2 separate regions of the Homo sapiens genome follow, and region 1 is linked to region 2. Evidence: promoter capture Hi-C in human tissues and cell types (Jung and others, 2019). All regions are on one chromosome and are shown on one strand. Each heading gives the region's core, a stretch centred on a gene start or on the middle of the fragment in contact. The rest is flanking DNA. Distances are from core to core; before and after follow the strand shown. Region 1 has its middle 5.9 kb from the start of OLIG1. Region 2 holds the start of IFNGR2 (interferon gamma receptor 2).

Region 1 (5,579 bases), core at 113-2,612, 330 kb before region 2:
CTGTGCACCAACTCATTCCAAAAGAGGATTTCTCATGCTTCCTAGACTCTGCCACCAGCAAAGTCACCACTTTTATAAAAAGTAGATTTGAACTCTGGCCTTCTGTTTATTCAATGCCTTTCCTTGCTTACCTTATATCTTGGCAAGGGGTAGGGGAAAAAAGTGAAAATCAATGAAATCAAAAGCAAATTAGGTTCTCCTTGAAACAAAAATACTTCTAAGGGATTAGAAACAAACAATTTCTCCCACTGTCCAACACCAGCACCTAGATGCCACTGTCATTCCAGACATCATCTCTAAAAGGAGCCCAAAGCTACAGGGCAGAAAATGGGTCTGCCCTTCTCTACCTGTAAATGGGAACAAGCCGCCCATGCCTTATAGGAAAAGTAACACTATATGTGTATGATTTTTTTTTTATTTAACTAAGAAAATCACAGCCTATCATGCTTTTCAGAAGGGCCAAAGGCTATAAATAAATTTAACAAGGACACACGGGGCTGTTTTGGGTGCCATCAAAATACTTATCTGCCTGCACGTAGCGTGCTTTTGGCCGTTGTGCCAAGCAAGATTAGCAGACTTGCTCTATAGAAGGAGTTTACATCCTAAAAAATAGTACCAGCAAGCATTGAAGAGTCCTGTAGGATGAAACAGATAAAAGGTAATTATATACAGTGTCCACAATGCAAAGTCAGACTGCTCAACATCTGTCTATGGCAGGGCAGTGTATTCTGCATGCAGAGTTTAAGCTTAGACATGTGTGTTCTAGAGCATGGAGCTGCTTTTAGAAATGTTCAGTGCTATGTCACGCCAGCAAAGGAGCTAGCTGAATTGTCCACCATACTTGATTTTAGCTGGAGTGGGCTTTGTTCAGAAGGAACAAGTGTAAGCTAGCCTTTGAAGGGTTTGGGACAGCTGGGAGGGTCTTAGTAAGGTTCCTCAAGAAAGGCACTCTAAGAGCTCAGAAGCAAGATGAGAAGGAACCCACGGCTCACTGCCAAAAAAGTTCCCTGCATCCAGCCAACCACCAAAGTGAGGTCCTGGCAATTAGAGTAAACTGAACCTAATGGGAAAATACACAAGGCCCTGAGAAATTATATTGTTATATATATTGGAGTCCAGGTGAGCAATCAGTAGACAGAGGGCAGAATCAATACACGATGGGATTTGCCTAGCCCGCAGTGATGGTCTACTTACAGATGTTCTCCTCTAAGGGAAACTGATGACACTAGACATAAAAATTTAACTTTGTGAAATATACAGCTTAGAGGGTAAGTGGCTGCTTCGAGGAAGAGGCTCCTCTCCAATCATGGAAAATGTTTCCACTTACTGAAGTTTAGAAGATGAACGACAATGCTTCCATCTTGCACTCCACTTTAAGGTGTTTGGTCTTTCCTGAATGCTTAGGTACGCAGGTGAGGCTGGGTACAAGAGAGCCTCAGCCTGCTAACTAGACCCCCTGGAGCCTCCTGTTGTGTTTAGGAAGCCAGCCAGGAAAAAAAGGGGCTTTTCTTTTCTGCCATAGAAGGATACCTGATGAACTTGCCAAGAGCAAGGTGATGGTTGGGAAGAGTCATTCAATTGACACTTTTGCTCCCTGGGTATGCAGTGCATTGACTAGGAAAGTATATTTCCCTCAGAAGGTATTTTCCTGCTTCTTCACTGCCTCTTTTCTCTTCTGCACACACAATAAATATTCAATAAGAAGATTACCACATTCACTGAAGTAGGCTCACAAAGCAATGGGGTGAAAAATGCCATGTTTTTCAAAAACATGAATTCACTTTTCTCCAGCAGATTTTTAGGTGTGGGGAAAGACGTTAGAAATACTGTTTCCAAGTAAGATCCAGTTAACGTGCAAAACTGGAGTAGCAAGATATTCCTCAAAACCTGCACACAAACTAGTCTCGTTATTTATGGAGACATCGGAAAATCATTCTTAAGGCAGTTCCCATTCTGTCATTTTTAACTAAGCCCAGCGTAAAAGCTGACATGCCTGAAAAGAAACCAAACCACATTCTTTCTGCTCACACGGGATTAGGAGCTCTCCGCAAACTCTCCCCCTTCCCTCCTGCTGCTGTTGACAGGCCAGGCTCTGAGCTCAGGACAAGGAGCTGAATATTCCAAGTCCTTAAACACTACAGGCTGCATGACGCTTTTGTGTGTGTGGGGGGGTGGGGGTGGGGGGGGAATGCCTTGATTGAAAGCAAAAAGAATGCATTCTACGTCCATGCTAAGCCTTCTGCGGTGACCACCGAGGACAGAGCACGCAAGTAGGCCACTACCTGGGACAAAGGCCGCAGGTACCAAATCATATCTGAGTCTCATGAATGCTGGCAGGCAAAGGCAGTTGCAAATCATCCATTCTCTCTTCTCCCTACTGAATAAGGCAACCGAGGCCCAGGATGGTCGGGAACCACAGTCAAAGCCACACAGGTGGTCAGAGGCAGTAATGCCAGGGACTAGCGCCTGCTTTGGGGAAGCACGGGCTGCTTCCTTGGTCTGTCCTGGTGAGACAAGGAATGGGAATCCCAACAGGAGGTCCCCACCCAGAGCTGAGCATGTTCTTCTGCCCTCCCCTGGAAAATCTCGGTCCTCTGGTCTCTTCCAGCCTCTCTGCTCAGCCTGTAGGCTGGCCCTGCTGGTGGCATCCAGGAGAGATAGGCTCAGGACAAATCCCTTGCTGGCTGACCTGACTGCAGTTGAGTCACCTGAACTTTCTCGGCAGCCTCGCCCCCTAGCCCCAAGAGAGGCCCAGACTGGTGACAGGGAGTGGCAGAGGCAAGGCCACCTCTGTGAGAGATCCTCTGACGGTTGCAGGTTTGTCATTCGAGTTTCTGAAAGTGAGCAAGCAGACGGCTGACAGACAAGGGCAGCAGGGTGCAAGGAGAAAACGGCTTCTGAAGGCACAGCTTCAGAGACTTTCTCCTCCTGGCTGCCTCACAGTGTTTTCATGTGGAAACTAGACATTCTGACCCTGCTGGAACCTGTGTCAACGTCGTCGGCATCTTTTTGTTGAGTGTTTTTCATGGACACGAGTGATTCCCCAACAGGCCCCTCTGCAGTGGTGGCCTGAAATAGAGGACAGACGCCCCTGACAGGCCCTGTACCTGGAGCACCAGTCCAAGGCAAGCCATGGGGCCCAGGAAACAGGCTCCCAGCACTGGGATTCAATAAGGGCTGTTGTGTCCCAGAAGCTTCTAAGTGATGTGGGTAGCTCCTTAGAGAATGCCAAAGTCATAGGACCTGGAGACTTCAAAATCACAAGAGCAGATGAGAAGACTTGTCTGTGAGGTTAAAAAGAAAGAAAAAAGAAAAGCCAACTCACCTGGGGGCAGGCAGGTGGGAAGGAGAAGCTACTCTGCAGAAATGGCAGAGCATTACTACCAGAAATAAAAATAACAATGGTGCTGATAAGAGCTCATTGTGTTATCGGGCACCAAGCAGGGTTGTAAGCATTTTACATGCATGCTTTCATTTTGTAGGCACCAGCGTTATCCCCATTTTACAGATGAGAAAACAGAAACATGAAGATACAGAGACAGAAGAAGCTGAAGCCAGTTCAGGGAAGTTGTAGCAGCCAGACACAGAAAGAAATGAGGCTCTGTCTAGAAGAAAGAGAGCCCCCAAGGGTTGTCCTCTCTGTCATTGCTGTAATGTGGAGAGGGGTCATTTTCCTTCCTCCCCTTAGCTCTTGGGGCAAGGCTGGGAAACCCCACCTGTACCCCAGTGCCCGCCCCATGCCTGGCTGTGGCTGCTTCTATTAATTGCATGTCTAACCAATGCATGATCCAGGCGTCAACGTCTCGCCACTCCCTGTCTCCTCTTTCTTGAGCCTGAGACCATGGGGTCATTCTTTTAGGTCATTTCACTTTTAGCTTTCTTTTTTTTTCAGTTTCACTTTTTCATTTTTATCTGATTTTTATTTCCAAAATGTTCAGACCTGGCGGAGACTGATCTAAGAATGTGAGTAGTGAGATGTCAGGGATTGCGGATGGGGCAGAAGGGAGGCTTCACGCAGCCCGCACCCTTCAACACATACATGCTCCTCGTCCTGGTCACCACTGAGTGTTACAGGCAAGAAAATAAAAACCCTAAACTCCTCAGACAGTGATCATTAGGTGTCATTCTGTTCAAATCTTAAAAAATAGTTTGAGCAGATGAAGAATCAGTAAAGAAAGCTTGGAGGTGATTTGATAACATTTTATCTACCCAGAGGACCAATCAAAGAGAGTATTTGTATTGTGGTGATGGTGGTGATGGTGGTGGTGGTGGTGGTGGTGGTCGTGGTGCTGGTTTTGTTCCATTTGCTTGCTTCCGGTGGCTTCACTCACATGCTTCCTCTGCAGTCCTGGTTCCCCACAGCCATGGGCAGAAGGTACAGCCTATATATGAGTCTCTATCAGTGCACAGGTGTCCAGTGTAGGAAAAAATAAAATGGAACATTACAGCACCCCGTTTAATAGACAACTTTTGAATTCACTTATGACCATGGTCTCCATGGTTCTAGGGGCTGTGAGGGCATCAGAGATGCCTTTTGTATTTTATATTCACACAGACTCACAGTAACTCAGATGGAGGGCTGTAGGCTTTGAACCATGAACTGCCCCAGCGAGGCTGTTGGGGAAGGCGTGCAGGGCTGGCTGCTGTAACAGACCTGGCCACAGGAGATGGGAGAGATGGATGCTCAACCTTCCCCCTCCCATCCTCCGCTCATAAGAACCCTACTGTGTCCAAACACAATCAGGCACCAATCTCCTCTCCCATCCTCCTGTCTTCCCTCCTCCTGGTCATCTCTTCCCTTTAAGATCCTGGCTGTGTGTTGCCCGATTTGGTCGTGCCTCCAGTTGGTCACTCCACTCCATGGCTCATGTAGGCTCATGTGTGACCTCAGTAGGCTACTTGAGCTCTGGTGCCTCAGTCTCCTCCTCTGTAAGGTCAGGGTAATAACAGGACCCACCTCCTTGGGGGTTAAATGAGGCAGTGGGATAAACCGTTAAGCATAGTGCCTATTGTACCTGCCAATGCTTTTCTTGTTGCCACTGATAGAATTTTTTCCATTGTCTGGAAATTATTTCCATGGTGATGTGTACTGTGACAGCTGCTTTCAAAGGCACTAGTGTGAGGCCAGGCGCGGTGGCTCATGCCTGTAATCCCAGCACTTTGGGAGTCTGAGATGGGAGGATGGCTTCAGCCCAGGAGTTCAAGACCAGCTTGGGCAACATGGCAAAACCCCGTTTCTACAAAAAATACAAAAACTTAGTGGCATGGTGTGTTGTGGTGTGCTTGTAGTTCCAGCCACTGGGGAGGCTGAGTTGGGAGAATCACCTGAGTCCAGGAAGCTGAGGCTGCAGTGAACTGTGATCACACCACTGTACTCTGGCCTGGGCAACAGAGTAAGACTCTGTCTCAAAAGAAAAAAAAAAAAGCACCAGTGTATGCTCCGTCATTCCCATCTTCTCTTGCAATCTATTAAGAGGGTCCATGACAGCATCAGATGGTACCAAGTAAGAATGCATTTGGAATGAGCAAAGCTGCCTTCTAAACTCCTCAGCTCCTTCCAGCTCTATCTGGACCCCCAC
Region 2 (5,114 bases), core at 2,615-5,114:
AGATTGCACCATTGCACTCCAGCCTAGGCAACAGAGTGATACTCCATCTCAAAAGAAAAAAAAAAAAAAGAGGAAGATAAATCCGAGCACCTTAGCACCCTCAGCCCCCCTTGCCATGTGATGCCCTGACCACCTCATGACTCTGCAGAGAATCTCCACCAGCAAGAAGGCCCTCACCAGATTTAGTCCCTAGACCTTGGACTTCTCAGCCTCCCAAAATGTAAGAAATAAATGCCTTTTCTTTATCAATTACCCAGCTTCAGATATTCTGTTATAAGCAACAGAAAATGGACCAAGACACACACAAACATCCTTCCCTGCCCATGTTACCTCAGAACTTTTCAGGGAGGGGAATTCTAGGAAATGCAGTTACAGTTTAGCAGACCTACTGCAGTGCAAACCCACCACAGGCCAAGTCACTGAACTCTGCTAGTGTCCCCATGGGACAGCCATCGCCTGCCTAACTGGGAGGTCTGAGTGTTATAATACCTAGAGAAGCACCACTGGCCAGCAAAAAATGTTGGCTTCTTTCTGCCATCCCCCACCCACTCTCCTGAGGGAGGTGAGAGGAGTCCCTCTAGGCTATTAGAAATGCTTCAGGAAGATCAACTGATTACAAGGTAAGGAATTAATGGAAAGGGATGGTGCAGATTCAGGGTTTGTAGGGCTGAAGTGTATATAATAGATGGAGCCCTCTTTATAAACAAATACACAACTCACTATAAAATTAGGCACAAAAGTATTTCTTTTTCTTTTCTTTTTTTTTTTTTTTTGAGATGGAGCCTTACTCTGCACTCAGGCTGGAGTGCAGTGGTGCTGTCTCAGCTCACTGCAACCTCCATCTCCCAGGTTCAAGCAATTGTCATGCCTCAGCCTCCCAAGTAGCTGGGATTACAGGCACCTGCCACTATGCCTGGCTAATTTTTCTATTTTTAGTAGAGATGGGGTTTCACCATGTTGGCCAGGCTGGTCTTGAACTCCTGACCTCAGGTGATCCACCCACCTCGGCCTCCCAAAGTGCTGGAATTACAGGTGTGAGCCACCACATCTGGCCAAAAGTATTTCTTTAGAATGATATACAGGTTACAATTTTTTTTTTTTTTTTGAGACAGAGTCTTGCTCTGTGGCTCAGGCTAGAGTGCAGCAGCATGATCTCAGCTCACGGCAACCTCCACCTCCTGGGTTCATGTGATTCTCCTGTCTCAGCCTCCCAAGTAGCAGGGATTACAGGCACATGCCACCACGCCTGGCTAATTTTTGTATTTTTAGTAGAGACGAGTTTCACCATGTTGGCCAGGCTGGTCTTGAACTCCTGATCTCAGGTGATCCACCTGGCTCAGCCTCCCAAAGCGCTGGGATTAGAGGCGTGAGCCACCGCACCCAGCCATCAAAGATGTAACCTTGAAACAAACTGCAGAAGCCTTTTCCCTTAGCCTTAAAATGGACTCCATGTCCCTCCCTTCTTCACCGTATAAACTCCCTTCACATTTATCTAACTGTATGCCCGTGTCTAGTTACGTGCCTTCTTAGAGGTTCCAGACGCTAATCTTGAGACAGACAGACCAAGCCTGGAGATTCTTCTGCAAAATTCCACATGTGACCTCAAGGCGTCTAATTAAGAATCCAGCCATTGTTGAGATGATGCCAGACCACAGGCTTCCTGTGGACTAGGACCCAAGACAGCCACCGGAACAAGACAAACAGACAGTGTACTTAGCATAATCCTTGCCTGACTTCCACATCGTTTTCCCGTTTTAAACCCTTGCCTTGGCCGGGCGCGGTGGCTCACGCCTGTAATCCCAGCACTTTGGGAGGCCGAGGCAGGCAGATCACGAGGTCAGGAGATCGAGACCAACCTGGCTAACACGGTGAAAACCCATCTCTACAAAAAACACAAAAAATTAGCCGGGTGTGGTGGCGTGCGCCTGCAGTCCCAGCTACTCGGGAGGCTGAGGCAGGAGAATGGTGTGAACCCAGAAGGCGGAGCTTGCAGTGAGCGGAGATCACACCACTGCACTCCAGCCTGGGTGACGGAGACTCTGTCTCAAATAAATAAATAAATAAATAAATAAATAAATAAATAAATAAATAAAATAAATAACCCTTGCCTTTCCCACTCCCCATACCCCACAATTCAACGTGATTGCTTTGGGGATAGGAATCCAACCACTTCCCCTTGCTAGCTTTGGAAATAAAGTCACTTTCTTTCCACCACATCTTGCTCTTGTTAGACTCTGCAAGCAGCCAGCGACTGAACCAGCATTCGGTTACATCCCCTGAGGCGGATGACACTTGTGTGATCCTGTAACCGATTTCTTGTTAGAATGTTGGCATCTTTCACCCAGTCGTTTTCTTGTAATTTTATTTATTTGTTTGAAAACAGAATCCTTCTTGCAATCCTGTCATTTTCAGTGCCTTTTTTTTTTTTTTTTTTTTTTTTTTTTTTTTTTTTTTTTGAGACGGAGTCTCGGTCTGTCACCCAGGCCGGGGTGCAGTGGCGCAATCTCCGCTCACTACAACCTCCGCCTCCCGGGTTCAAGTGATTCTCCTGTCTTAGCCCTCCAAGTAGCTGGGATTACAGGCGCCGGCCACCACGCCTGACTAATTTTTGTATTTTTAGTAGAGACGGGTTTCAGCCATATTGGCCAGGCTGGTCTCCAACTCCTGGCCTCATGTGATCCGCCCACCTCGGCCTCCTAAAGTGCTGAGATTACAGGCGTGAGCCACCGCGCCTGGCATCAGTGCATACTTTTTGAAGTGATTCCAAGTTATCGCCCGCTTTTTTCGTGTAACATATAAATACATCTCTGTATCTAGAAATATCCAATGCATAATTCAATTGTCTGCGAGGTATTTCATCACGTATTTTCACGAGCGTGGCCAATTTCAAAATAGTTCTACAAAGAGGAAATGCAAGAATGTGGGAAGAGCAAAAGAAAAGCTCTATGTTGCAAAACCCATTTTTGCTAACGTGTCCAGTGGGCTCCCGGGACGACCTGTTTTTAAATTCTTGGTCTCCCTGCACCGCGTCCCTCCTTTGCTGCGCTAGCTTTATGACGCATCTTGGAAGAACAGGGCAGATTTAAAACCCTCTCCCAACAGGCGTCAAACGACATGGTGCAGGCTCGGGCTGGGGAGCGGGCCTGCGGCTGCCCAGCTGCTAAAGGACTTCCTACTCGTGCACCGCCGCCGGCTCCAGGGCAAACCCCACGCCATTTAGAAATGCTGGAAGTTTCTGTCTCTCCCTCCCCCTGCTCGGAGGCCATTCCCCCCACCCCCAGAGCCCCACCTCCTCCTTCACTGGGCCCTTTCTAACTCCTTCCCCTTAAAACCCTTTTCAAAATGGGGTTGACTGGAGGCGGAGGTTGCAGTGAGCCGAGATCGCCCCACTGCACTCCAGCCTGGTGACTCCGTCTCAAAAAAAAGGGGAGGGGGGCGGGGGAGAGTTGAAAGCTTAATATGTACTTTGGGGGCTATTAAAGCAAACATTTCGACTAAAGGGGCGAATCCTCGAATTGTGCGATCAAGCACCCGAGAGGAGAGTTGGGGGGGGTCAGGAGGGGTGGGGGCTCCAGGGAAAGCCCGGGGGTCTGGGCCGGGGTCTCGCGGGGCCCTTCCGGAAGGATCGCGGCCCCCGAAGGTGGGCGTCCCGCGGGGCTCCAGTCTCCAGGACGTTCCGGGAGGCTCCGCGCTCTGGGAGGCCGGCTGCGTGGGGTCCCCGCGCTGCAGCCGCAGAGGCCCCCCAGGGCCGCGGTTCCCGGAGCGGGAAAGTCCCGCGCGGGGGCGGTGGCCTCGGGGGCGGGACGGGGCGGGGGCGGGGGCGCGGGCGGCCGAGCCGAATCCCCTCCACCGGGACGCCCCGCTGCTGCTCGGGAAGAGGCGGGCCCTGCGCGCCCTGCGCTCGCCATGGCGGTTTGGGCGGCGACGTGAGCGGCTCCGCGGACCCCGAGCGGGGCCCCGGCCGCGACCTGAGCCGCCGCCGAGCGCCCGGGGCCATGCGACCGACGCTGCTGTGGTCGCTGCTGCTGCTGCTCGGAGTCTTCGCCGCCGCCGCCGCGGCCCCGCCAGGTGAGCCGGGCCTGGGCCTCCGCGGCGGGACGCGGGCGCAGCCGCAGCATGTGGGGGCTGGGGGACTCCCGGATCGTGGGGTGGGGGGAATCTGCCGGGTGCTCAGAGTGGGTGGGAATCTGCGGGGTGCTCCTGGTGGGTGGGATATGCGGAGTGCTCAGATCAGGTGGGAACCTGCGGGTGCCCCAGGTGGGGGTCTTGCGGGGTGCCCAGGGCTAGAGGGGCCCGCTGGGAGCCCGCAGCGGGGCTGGGATGGGCGGCCAGGAGTTCCAGACAGGAGCTGGGCAGCAGCAGGAAGACGGGGGGCACCCCTCCTGGCGTCCTGGCCGCCGGGACACCCCTCTCCGGGAGAGGACACTCGGTGCCCCTCCGTGAAGCCGGTAACCTCGGCTGCGCCACCTCCCCCACCCGCGCGCCCGCGCCGGGAAAGCCAGCGTGGCCCCAGTCTCCGAATTTCTCGGAATGAACAACAGCAAATTGAATCCAGGGCTCCGGCGGGGGCCGCCTTTGCTGGCCACTGGTTCTGCAGCCTGGCGAGACTGCGCTTAGTCCCCGCCTGGAGTGCCTCCCGAAGGCCTGGCTGGAAGCTAGACTCAGTCCCTTTGTAGTAGCAGCGGTGGAGCAGGGACCAGCGTCTTGGACGGGTGACCCAGACTCAATTCCGACTTTGGCCGAGGGCATGTTTGACACTGGGTGTGAAATCTAGACAGTTCCCGCGGTCATAGAGATGGGGCAGCAGCATTCAGGCAGGGCTCAGAACTGTCCGGGTCCCATCAGTGTTGGGGCGGAAGAGGAAGAGTGTCAACTGAGCCAGGCATTTATTTATTTTATTGTTGTTTGAGACAGGGTGTCGCTCTGTCGCCCAGGCTGGAGTGCAGTGGGCAGCATCTCAGCTACTGCAGCCTCCGCCTCCCGTGCTCAAGCGATCCTCCCACGTCAGCCTCCCAAGAAGGTGGTATTATTGGCCACGCCTGGCCAATTTTTGTATTTTTTGTAGAGAGGAGGTCTCACTGTGTTGCCCAGGCTGTTCTTGTACTCCTGAGCTC

Evidence for each region. Contacts are between HindIII fragments. The study calls those that stand out against the background at their distance.
Region 1: a fragment that was not itself captured here is called in contact with the fragment with the promoter of IFNGR2 in region 2 in 2 of the 25 tissues and cell types used here (H1 embryonic stem cells and dorsolateral prefrontal cortex).

Annotation. Positions count from the first base shown.
Region 1 is chr21:33,073,269-33,078,847 of GRCh38, forward strand. No RefSeq gene overlaps it. Among named protein-coding and RNA genes, the nearest start is that of OLIG1, 5.9 kb to the left of the region's middle. The HindIII fragment of the contact is 4,648 bases long and covers 1-3,686 here.
Region 2 is chr21:33,399,549-33,404,662 of GRCh38, forward strand. IFNGR2 (interferon gamma receptor 2) reads left to right here and starts at 3,865. Exons shown (of 7, transcript NM_005534.4): 1 at 3,865-4,068. The coding sequence starts at 3,996. RefSeq lists cis regulatory regions at 2,410-3,597, 2,982-3,597, 3,580, 3,590, 3,867 and 2 more, promoters at 2,813-3,969, 2,813-3,451, 2,823-3,990, 3,585-3,989 and silencers at 3,544-4,083, 4,094-4,173, 4,194-4,243, 4,384-4,433. The HindIII fragment of the contact is 6,342 bases long and covers 605-5,114 here.